Linked DNA regions of Homo sapiens: all the other regions are linked to region 1. The links are contacts of gene promoters, found by promoter capture Hi-C in blood cells and fetal thymus (Javierre and others, 2016). All regions are on one chromosome and are shown on one strand. The core of a region is centred on a gene start or on the middle of the fragment in contact, and the rest is flanking DNA. Distances in the headings are between cores, read along the strand shown.

Region 1 (3,833 bases), core at 912-3,411:
TGTAAATCTTCACAAAGGAAGGGATGTCATGGATGACAAAAGTAGCTACCCAGCTTTCTGCATAAAAAGCCTCCACCCCTGCTGGTCACCCACTCAGCACTCAGCACTCACCAGGGCCTGCACCACCTGCCTTCCCTCCTGCCCAAGTGCACACCCCGGACAGACTGATTATACATTGATGTGAAGAAGTCTGAAGCAACAGGTATCTTCACTGTATTTATGCTTTCAGTTCTTCATAATCACAGAATGAAAATGTGAAATACCTCCCCCCCCCCCGCCCCCAATTAAAGACATGCCAAATACTTCAGGAACAACCAGGATTGAAATTTGGCTTCTCCAAGGTAAGCCTGATAAGGTCAAAGTATGCTGGTACCTGTTAAACAGCATAAGGGGTACAGGGAGAGGGTTGTCAAAGGTAGAATTTCCACTTTCTTGAGGACCTGGGGTCTGCCCTTGTTGGACATCTCTGGAGCAGCACAGGCCACTCACCCCATTTGACTATACAGCACTTAAAAATGTGGCGAGTCCAAATTGAGATGTGCTTGTGAGTATAGAATACAACAGGATTGGCCAGGCGTGGTGGCTCACGCCTATGATCCCAGCATTTTGGGAGGCTGAGGCGGGTGGATTACCTGAGGTCAGGAGTTTGAGACCAGCCTGGCCAACATGGCAAAACCCTGTCTTTACTAAAAATACAAAAATTAGCCGGGCATGGTGGTGTGCACCTGTGATCCCAGCTACTCGGGAGGCTGAGGCAGGAGAACCATTTGAACCTGGGAGGCAGAGGTTGCAGTGAGCCAAGATCATGCCATTGCACTCCAGCCTGGGCAACAGAGTGAGACTCTGTCTCAAACAAAAAAAAAAAAAAAAAAAACAAAAAAACAGGACTTTGAAGACAGCATAAAACATCTTTATTGATTACATGTTGAGATAATGTTCCGGATGTTTAGGTTAATACTGAAATCCAGCTTGCTGTTTCTTTTCACTTTTTATTAAATGTGACCACTAGAACATTTAAAATTACACACGTGGCTTGGTCAGTATTTCTCTGGGGCAATGCTGATCTAGAGGCAGAGACCATCCCTCCCCAGCAGTTAGACCTCAAGACTAACTGCTGTCCCCTGTGGGGATGATGTGGTGGTACATTATGTCTGCTGCTCTGGTGTGGCCCTGTTTTTATTTTTGGGTGCTCAGTAAATGTTACTGGGAGAAATGAATTACAGGAAAAATGAGTCCTTTCCTAGCCTCCTTCAATGAGGTTTGCAACATTAAAGTCACCACGGGCCACTTTCACTGGAAGCTGTCAGTGTCGGAGGTTTGGAAATTAACTGAGAACTACAGACAGGAAAGGTGTAAAGCAAATTATTTTCCTATCAGATTGACATTTACAAGAATAATGGGAAGGAGCATGGAAAAGAGGAAGCAGGTCAACCTTCCTTGAGGACAATTAGATAATAGGCATCAAAAGTCTTAAGTTGTATAAAACCTGTATCCTAGAAATTTACCTTTTCGTAGTTTATTCTAAGGAATTAATTGGACAAAAGCACAAAGACATCTAATTGTATTATTAAAATGGAAAGTTTAATATTCAACAATAGCAGATAGGTTAAGTACATTAGGACATTATGAAGTGGCTTAAAACGGACATTCAAAAAAAGGAAATGGAAAACCTGAGTAATGTACAGCTTGTATGGAATGAACTAAAAATATATAAATTTTTGCATAGGTAGAATGACATTGGAAGAACATACACCACAATGTTAACTGATTATCTCTGGGTGTTGGAAAATGATTGATTTATCAACTTTTTTACTGTTATTTCTTTTCTTTTTTTTTTTTTTGCAATGAACAGGCATGCTCTGGCAGTTTTTAAATGAAGTATGGAAATTATGGATTGTGCAGTCATAGTCAACGTTCATTGAGAGCTTACTTTATATAAAGCATCATGCTCAGCATTGTGCTTTGTGGCATTTGATTTTTTAAAAATCAAACGCCCTCCAATCTTAAGCAAGGATGATGGCCAAAAGGTCGGCTTATTACCCAACTGCAACAATAGGAGGGACAGGTAATTAAAAGGCAATTGCCATGACAAATAGAAAAGATGCCAAAGTCAACATTTTTTCAAGGAGCTATAAAGCCCGTGGAGGAGTCAGCTGACGGCACAGTGTTCGCGGCTGCACCGCTCGGAGGCTGGGTGACCCGCGTAGAAGTGAAGTACTTTTTTATTTGCAGACCTGGGCCGATGCCGCTTTAAAAAACGCGAGGGGCTCTATGCACCTCCCTGGCGGTAGTTCCTCCGACCTCAGCCGGGTCGGGTCGTGCCGCCCTCTCCCAGGAGAGACAAACAGGTGTCCCACGTGGCAGCCGCGCCCCGGGCGCCCCTCCTGTGATCCCGTAGCGCCCCCTGGCCCGAGCCGCGCCCGGGTCTGTGAGTAGAGCCGCCCGGGCACCGAGCGCTGGTCGCCGCTCTCCTTCCGGTGAGTCCCAGCCCCGAGTTGGCTCTGGCGCCCGGGTACCCGCCAGTGCCGGCTGCCGATGACCGATTCACGCTCCCGGTACTGGGGCCCCCTCTGCCCAGCCACCCCTACCCAGAGCACCCGGGCTGCGCGGCCCCGCCGAGGGTGCGGGCTTTGTTCGCATTGTCTGCGCGCACCTGAGCGCGGCCTTCCTGGCACGGCGGCGTCGGGGGAAGAGCGCACCTGGCGCGCGCCTCCCTCGTGGCCACTCGCGGTCCGTCCCGGGCGAGCTGGCGGGGTTTTGGGAGGGGTGCGGTCAGCAGGTAAGTGGGTAGGGGCTCCGGGTACAGGGGTGGAGGAGGGCATGTATTAAACCCAAGCTGCCCTCCTGGCACAGTAGCGGGGCCCCCTTCCCTGGCGGCCGCGGAAAGGGACTCGCCCTTTGAATAAAGGCTTTGGTGACATGCTCGCTTCCACCCCACACCCCACTACAGGACATACACAGGTGTTAAGGGGACTTGGGGCAGTTTTCCCAGGCAGAACGAGTGCCCCCAGCGAAGTGTCTGCAAGCAGAACCTGAGAGGGGCCGGCTGCCCCGAGAGTCCTCGCGCTTGGGCAGTGGGAAGTCCAGGGGTTTGTCGTTCTGGTGACTTCCCCCACCTGGCTCAGCCCTGCTTCCTGCATGTCTCCTTCCCTTCCAATAAGGCTAACAAAACTTTCCCTAGCTAAGCCGACCTTTCCCTCCCGCCTTGGGCCCTTGGCCACCTGCTGGGACGGTGAATGGGAGAGTCTCAGAATTGAACCTTGAAAACTTGCTGGGGGCACCAGACAGAAGAGAAGGGAGGAGGGCACCTTGCTGCTTGTGATTGTGGAATCAAGGGCTCCAGCTGAAGCTGAAAGGGGACTTAGCAATGGGGACCTCATGCCATGTGTTTGATGTCTTGGAGATTGGAATAATTAGAACGTGTACATTTTTCAAATTACAAGCTGCTTTAAGTAAAACCCCAGAACCTCTAAGTGTTTTATAAATTCAGTCCCAAAAATTCAAGGTCTCTTTTGCTGTTAAGGTGACACTATATTAAGAAATGTCGATTTATTGAAGAGTCAGAGAAGTGAAGAGGTCAGAAAGGTACCACTAGAGTTGGCAAAAGCCACAGGCATGAATTTGTAAATGCTGCTGGCTTTCAGCAGGCTGAAGCCATCCTCTCTTGTGACTGATGGGGGTTCAGAGCTCCTCAGGCCTTACTCTTCTTTTGTAAAATCCAGCCCAGAGCCATCTCCTAGTAGTGTAAGAATTTCTCAGACTAGGTCCCCAGGCAAATCCCAGGTTGGAGAAGAGGATTGCTTTCCTCATCATCTCTGGCTGAAAACCATCAG
Region 2 (3,833 bases), core at 537-3,036, 490 kb before region 1:
CTTGACTACGGCCACTACCCCTATAGTGTAGGTTTATCTCATGACTTCAGCTTTCATCAAAATTGGGTAATACTTCTCCCTCCTTTCATCCCTGCAAGCCTAGAGGAGGTGAAGTCTTCCCACTCTTGCTACACCACCATCCCACCACCATTTCTTGCTGCTCCTTTAACCCTGCCTCCACCTCTGCAGACAGACCCTGCAATAACTCTCTTCAATAAATCCTTTGAGCATGCTGTTTCCTGCTGGGACCCTGACTGACACATTATTTCTGTACAGATTTATCTGCCATATTAGTTTATAAGGTCCCTAAGAGCAAAGTCTATGTTTAATTCTTTTTTCAAAATTCCCAACTGTGCCTGTTATGCAAGTGGTACCAATAAATGCTGAAAGGAAATATTCTTTCTTATTAACTGCCTTCAACTTAAATAGAAGGTGAAAGGAATGAAAACGTTTTAAAAATATATACATCTCTTGGAACAATAAACGTTTAGAAGTTGAGTTCAGAAGAATAAAAAACTTTAGAAGAATAAAACACGATGCTAAGTGGGATGTGTGGTCTGATTTCATGGGCTTTACCTGATTCTTCAAATTCATGATTCATACAGAATCCATATGGAATATGTTCTTTCTTCTCCAGGTCCCAGAAATGAAATAGGGTTGCTTCTGTTATGATAGCAGTTGAAGTGCCAAAAAAAAAAAAAAAAAATTGGGCTGCTCCTAGATCCAGAGCAGCAGGGAAGCTCTATCACTGACCAACAGGAGTTCTAGGAAACATAGGGTTCCAGGGTTACACCACACCCTACAGATGTGATGGGCTGGTGGGAAAGAGGCCACTGCACAGGACCATCAATTTGGGGGTTTCCTTCCTACTCCACTTTTTCTTCGACTGCACTGCCACCCCTTCCTTACCAACACTGACCCTTTTGGCCCAGTGCCAAGCAAGTTGGACCTACTAAGATTCAGGGCCATAATGGGAAAGAAAGGAAAGAAAAAAGAGGAAGAACTCATCATCCCTCCCTCTGCCCCAGTGGTGGTCTCATTGGCTGACTCCCAGTCCGAAATCTTTGGGCCATCCTCTATCACCTGTATACATTCCCTAATCCCCAGAAACTGGACCCAGGTGTTCTCTTTAAATAAGGAAGATTCTGACTTCAATCTTCTGTGGATCTCGAAGTCCTCTTTTGGCATCTACATCTGCTTTTGCTCTAACAAATGAATCTAAATACAAAAATAGACACTGGTATGTGTGTGTATTGGGGGAAGCAGGTAGAGTTAATTACCTTTATTCCGTTTCTCATGTTTTTAAAATGTTTAGAGAACTTTAAAAGGACTTTGCTCCATCAACTGGACAACCATGTGGATGGCCAAACACTTTAGCCCCTCAGTTCCTTGACCTCCTCGTCACCAATGACCTTCTACGCTACATAGCTAAGCTACCTGCGCCTTGCAATTTCTCTATTTTAAGATCGATCAAGCATATTCTCTCCAAGCACTACTTCCTATCCTTCAGTCAGCTTGTACCATCTGTCTTTGACGGCACATCTCACCAGGAATCACTACCCAGGATGCCCGTCCCCAAGAATCTCCTCCTATCTCCTTTATCTCTTTATCTCCTTAGTTATTTCCTCCTTATGACCCTCTGATTCCATGAGTCAACATTTTGAGCATTCTTCAGCAAGTATGCTAAACTCCCTTGCTGCCTTCCTTCTGTGGCATTTTCCTAGCAAAAATGCTAAGCTGAAATGAACCCCAGGCCCTGGCTCCCCCATGCCTGCTCCTGAACAGCTGAAGGCCACTGGAGGAAATCACACATCAGGACTCTTGCCAAATTTACGGTCACCAACCTCAATGGACCCACACTATTTCCAGCATTGAGAAATACTTGCAAAGTAAGGAAATACAGTATCTAAGGAAGGAACTCTGGGGACTCCAAAAAGTAAAGATTGCATGCTGGTAGAAAACCCAGCAAACAAAACAAAGAAATAGATCAGTATAGTGAGAACCAAGTGAGAGAGTAACTTGGAAGCAAAGAGAAGAGAAAATTTCAGCAAGGGTTGGCTCGCTGCCATTGCCTCTTCTGAGCAAAGTTCTTTGTGTCAGGCCTCTCCCTGGGTCAAAAGCCAGCCAATAGAGGGGCAGTCCTAGGGTAAGGTGCTCACCCTGATCCCATCAGTAGTTATTCTTGTGCAAAGTTCAACCCAGCTTATTTCCTTTTGCAGGCAGTTGAGAGAGTGGCAGTTTCAGCTGCTAATGGACACTGATCTCAGCAGACATACTGAAAGAACGAGGAAGGGTCCAGAATCTTGAGGTCTTGGAGAGGCTGAAGTGAAGAAATGTAAAGCATAGAAGGAAGGGAGATTGCAGTTGGAAAGTGGAGCACCCCAGTCAAAGTTATCGAAGTTCATGCAAGAATGGGTAGTTCCAAGGTCCAGAGTGTAATCATAAGAATTGAACAATGAGAACACTTGGACACAGGGTGGGGAACATCACACACCAGGGCCTGTCGTGGGGTGGGGGGAGGGGGGAGGGATAGCATTAGGAGAAATACCTAATGTAAATGATGAGTTAACAGGTGCAGCACACCAACATGGCACATGCATACATATGTAACAAAACTGCACATTGTGCACATGTACCCTAGAACTTAAAGTATAAAAAAATGAAATTAAATTTAAAAAGTGAGGTACAACAGTGAAGTAGGAGGGATTACCAATGGAGTATTAAAGTTAGTTTTCTCTGGATCTCCCTGGTCAAATTATGAGCTCTCAAAAAACACTAATCTTTCCATTTTTCTATTATCTATAACATCTGGCATATAGTAGGCACACTGTAAATAAATAAAGAATGGATAGGCATTTAAGCTAGCTACTGGGGATACACTGGTCAGAAGAAACAGACACAGTACTAATGGATTATACAGTCTTGTGGAGGAAGAGACAGACATTAACCAAATAATCAGACAAATGCATCTAAAATTACAAATGGCAAAATGTGTACTGAGGTTAACATTGCACCATGATAATGTGTCATAAAGAATCTGGCCTTGTCTGGGGAGAGAAGGAATCACTGAGAAGTGATGTTGGAGTGAGAGCTGAAGGATGTGTAGTAGTTAGCCAGTGGAAGAAACAGGAGAAGAGTGGGCCAGAGAGAGGGAGCAGCATGTACAAAGGCCAAGGTGCTTAGCGTGCAGAGACCAGGAGTAAGAGTTCTTGGAAACAATCTTGAGGGGAGGCAGGGGACGATGGAGGGAGAGAGGGATGATAATGTCTGTAACAGTCATGGTCCATCTTCTTGGCTAGCAGAACCCCAATTTTGTTCAGACGGCAAGGGAAATTATCATGATTGATGCAAGCCAATGAAATCTCATTTCCTCTTGGCCAATGACTGGTCTTCTTGAGGTAATAGCTGACCAATCCAATCAGATGTAAGAGAAAGTCTTATTCAGGCCTTGTAGGAGGAATTTTTCTCCCTGAAGTGAAAAGCACATAAGGAGAATGCTCATTTTCCCCCAACACTTCCCTGCTGCTTGAGATAGTGTGTTGTGGAAACATGATGCTTATGGCAGCCAACTTCTGACCATATGGAAAAGGCCAAGAAAATCAGACACATAACCTTAGTTCTAACATCACTGAATCGTCAAAATAAGTCTGGAAATGCTTCACTCCAGACTTCTTGCATGATGTATGATAAATAAATTATAAGCCACTATTGTTGAGTTTTGGGTTTTTTTAAGAGCCAAAAGCAATCCTAACTATAGAGCAATTTCCAAAATCAGTCATGGAAGAGAACCATATAAAATTATACAAAATGCTTTATATCATCAGTTCCTTTCT
Region 3 (3,833 bases), core at 488-2,987, 470 kb before region 1:
CAGAGGGCACAGATCCCTCTGCCAAAAGATTTCCCAGACACTACCTGATTTCTGCCCATTCTGTCTGTACTCCTCAGGCAAAGGCTGAGTTTCTTGTTAATCTCTTCCCTTTACCCTGATCAATCTCGCTTCTCATTCATTATAGCTGTCTATCACTTCTTCCTCATTTCTAATGAAATCCATTTGAAGACATAAAATATAATGTACCTGCCTCTTGAAAGCGACTTGTAATTGGACCTTCAGCTTTCTTGGATTTGCAATGTTCCCAACTTGGGATATTAGTCATAAACATGCTGAGTGGTTTTGTTCTCTGGCACGGATACTATTTTGTCTCTTAGAGACTTATCCATTGACTTTACCCTGTCCATGTATACCAAGCACATCTAATGAGTCCTAGTCCCTTGTTTTATCTAGTTGGTAGCTCTCCAACTATTTTGAAAGCTTTTTGTAGCATATCAAATTCACCATGCCAAACACCTCACCTCAGTTCTTCATTTAGCGAGTAGAAACGGTGGTATGCAGCAGTTAGGAAGCTTCACCCTTGTCTGTAAGTGCCTCTTGCTTTTCACTCATGATATCTCCCTCCCCCTAGAGATAACATTATTGGTCACTTTGCCTTTTCACACTATAGATCCAGTGATTTTTAAACCAGCTCGAGTTAACAGTACTGTTTGCCTTGCTGGGTGGTGTTGTTGTTGGTTAAATTAAGTGGGCTGCCTTTACCCCCAACTCAGCATGATCCGGCTCCATGAGCTTGGAACTTAAAACATGGACAGAACTTAAACACACCTGTATTTTAAAACTTGACTTTTTTTCTAGAGAACATTCAGGGTCTTTTCCAAACCCCCTGCTCTGAGGCATTGTTCTTGGAATTTTTCTGCCATGCAAAGAAGCTACTTTAGTAGAATATTCTGTATCTATGGGGAAGGGGAGGCAATAGTGGTTGAATCTAGATCACCTGGAAACCCATAATTCATACTATCATATGATCAACACAACCAAATTCCATTGCTGTGGAAACAATAGAAGTGTGTGAACAGAACACAAAAGAAAAATATGGAGCAGGAACAGGAAAGGTGCAACGCCTTGATTCTGGGTTAATTACATTCTTAGATGGCACTGGATGATTACAGGAAAAAGATGAGGGTAGCAACTCCAGAGCTTAGTGACTTAGAATGCTACCCACAGGGCTGGTCATGGTGGCTCATGCTTGTAATCTCAGCACTTTGGGAGGCTGAGGCGGGTGGATCACGAGGTCAGGAGTTTGAGACCAGCCTGGCCAATATGGTGAAACCCCATCTCTACTAAAAAATATACAAAAATTAGCTATGCATGGTGATGCGCGCCTGTATTCCCAGCTACTCAGGAGGCTGAGGCAGGAGAATCACTTGAACCCAGGAGGTGGAGGTTGCTGTGAGCCGAGATCGCGCCACTGCACTCCAGCCTGGGGGACAGAGTGAGACTCTGTCTCAAAAAAAAAAAAAAAAAAAAAGAATACCACCCACAGGAGAAAACCACTTGTTCTGAGTGACTGTTCCAAACGGTAGAGAAAAAAAGCCTGAGTGATGTGCTTATATGTTTTCATCCTCAGTGGTGACCCAGACTCAAGAGGCAAGTTCAAGTTGTGTGAGCTTCTGGATGTAATCTTGGAAGACCCTCTGGTCTTTTTTAACCCAACTAATTTATTACGGCTTTTCTAGAATGCATGTGATTTAATTCTATCTCTTGCAAAGAAAAAGCAAAGCATTTTTATCTCTTTTCTTCAGCATTTAATGGAACAAAGTTCTCCAGGATTTAGGCAAACTCACCTACAAGATTTATCAGAAGCCACTCAAGATGTGAAGGAAGAGAATCATTATCTTACTCCTCGAAGTGTTCTTTTAGAGGTAACCCCTTCTTGTCCATTCATCATTTGTTTCTTTAACAAATATTTACTGAAACCCTGCCATGCACTTTTCGTGCAATATTAGGCTATGGTCAGTGGGAACACAGAAGTAAATCAAATACAGATGACGTGCTCATGGTGCTGACACTTGACTAGGAGACAGCTGTAATACAAGACAGAGGGTTCTATGCTGAAGAGAGATGCTTATAAAATACCAGGGGTGCATGAGCTATGGGAGGAGGAGATGACTTTCAAACAAAAGATCAGGAAGATTTCAGGGACGAGATGACATTAGGCCATACATGATGAGTAAAATTTGGATGTGGGGGATTGCCTTGAGGAGTCTTTCTGCATTCTTAGCAGAAAGAATAATATGAGCCAAGGTCCTTGGGTGATCAGTTGTGTGCTGTGTATCGATCAGTCTATTGATCAGTAGGAAGCCCTTACTGAATGCCTTCTGAGCACTAGTCACTGTACTGTACTGGGCATGGTGGCTAAAGTAATGAGCCTGACATCACCCTGCTGTCAGAGTGCATAGTCTTGTCAGTTACCACAGGATAACGCTGCACAAAAGACGTGGTCCGTGTGCTCTGGAAGCAATAGAAAAAGAACAGATTTTCTCTATCAGAGTCAAGGAAGGCTTCTGGGATGAAGTGCCATTTGATACATGTATGGGGAATAGTTCAGTGAGGCTGCAACCTAGAGTGCGTGAAAGGCATAGTGGGAGATAAACAGAAGAAAAGGGCCAGCCCATGATGGGTCTTGAATGCCAAGTTGACTTCATTCTGTAGACAGCATAGGGGAAGCGATGGCTTCTGAGTTGGGAAATCTCAAAACCTGAATTATCCTCCATTAGTATTAACTGAGCAGCTATATCTGCCATGGACTATAGAGAGAAGAGAATGGAAGTGAGAGATAGGAAGACAGAATGGAGGGTGGGAATGCTGCGTCATTTCCCAAACTGGGGGTTTTCCGTAAGATGGTGACGTATGTTTATATAAAAGAAACATTCTGGGGTCAAATAAGTTCCGGAAACACCCAGTTAAAATAAGTTAAACAAGCTTCTTAGCAGAATTCTCAGAGCATTTAGTATGCAGTGGTGCATTGTAAATAGTCAAGTCAGATACAACACATGGCATTTCCCAAGCTCCTTTGAGCACAGAGTTCTTCTTTCACCAAAATATTTTCATATTTCTGTTTCCTGGGATGCAGTCTTTTATGATAGTTCAGCCAACCAATCAGATGTGTACTGAGCATCAGTTATAGGCCTGGCCTTTGCTAGGTACTTTATGATAAGTAAAGTCTAGTAAAGCAGACAAAACAGCTAAAAAGACCAAAGATAAATAAATAAATAAATAAGTAAAAAAACTATGCAATGGAAATTGAGAGAAAGGAGAGCTCTGCCGTAGCTGAGGTGATCAGAGTGGGCTGTGGGACTTCAGCCAGGCCTGAACATGATTTCAGTAGGCCGAAAGGAAAGATGGCACTCGAGGTGAAGAAGAGAGCACGAACATGGCGATGGAACAGCACCATTTGCAGGGGGCCAATGGGAAGACTGGCTTGACTGGAAGGAAGGTTTCCATCATGGGTTAACGGTGAACTTAGGTAGGCCTTAGGGTTTTTGAGCAATCATTGCCACAAGTGACTCTCTTTGTTCTAAGGGGGCTATGGAGAGCTTCCTAAGGGCAGTATTTTTCTAGAACATTGCAATGTCCCTGAAGCCACTTGGGCTGCCTGTGAGCATAGTAACCTGAGACCAGCTTCACATTGTGTCAGAGTCTTTGTCCCAGCCAAGTGCCATGATTCTATAGTAGAACTGATTGGGGAAATGCTTTCATGTCATTAAGTGCCGAATGGTGAAACAGAAAGATAAACAGCAATTTAGCTCAATAGAAATAACACTTGTATCCGGAGCATGAGGGATCCAGGAGAAGAAAATTGACTTTGA

The links. The method cuts DNA at HindIII sites, captures the fragments that hold promoters and counts their contacts. A CHiCAGO score of 5 or more calls a contact.
Region 2: a contact is called between a fragment that was not itself captured here and the fragment with the promoter of VWA2 in region 1, in 2 of 17 cell types (monocytes and neutrophils). The highest score is 5.6, in monocytes.
Region 3: a contact is called between a fragment that was not itself captured here and the fragment with the promoter of VWA2 in region 1, in 4 of 17 cell types (erythroblasts, naive B cells, total B cells and 1 more). The highest score is 6.3, in erythroblasts.

Annotation. Positions count from the first base shown.
Region 1 is chr10:114,237,093-114,240,925 of GRCh38, forward strand. It overlaps VWA2 (von Willebrand factor A domain containing 2), which reads left to right and starts at 2,162. Exons shown (of 14, transcript NM_001272046.2): 1 at 2,162-2,477. RefSeq lists an enhancer at 2,073-2,781. The HindIII fragment of the contact is 4,541 bases long and covers 1-3,833 here.
Region 2 is chr10:113,744,644-113,748,476 of GRCh38, forward strand. No RefSeq gene overlaps it. Among named protein-coding and RNA genes, the nearest start is that of PLEKHS1, 5.1 kb to the right of the region's middle. The HindIII fragment of the contact is 7,286 bases long and covers 1-3,833 here.
Region 3 is chr10:113,770,204-113,774,036 of GRCh38, forward strand. PLEKHS1 (pleckstrin homology domain containing S1) reads left to right here. Exons shown (of 13, transcript NM_001395068.1): 8 at 1,767-1,886. Among named protein-coding and RNA genes, the nearest start is that of MIR4483, 5.9 kb to the right of the region's middle. RefSeq lists an enhancer at 2,411-3,610. The HindIII fragment of the contact is 2,413 bases long and covers 532-2,944 here.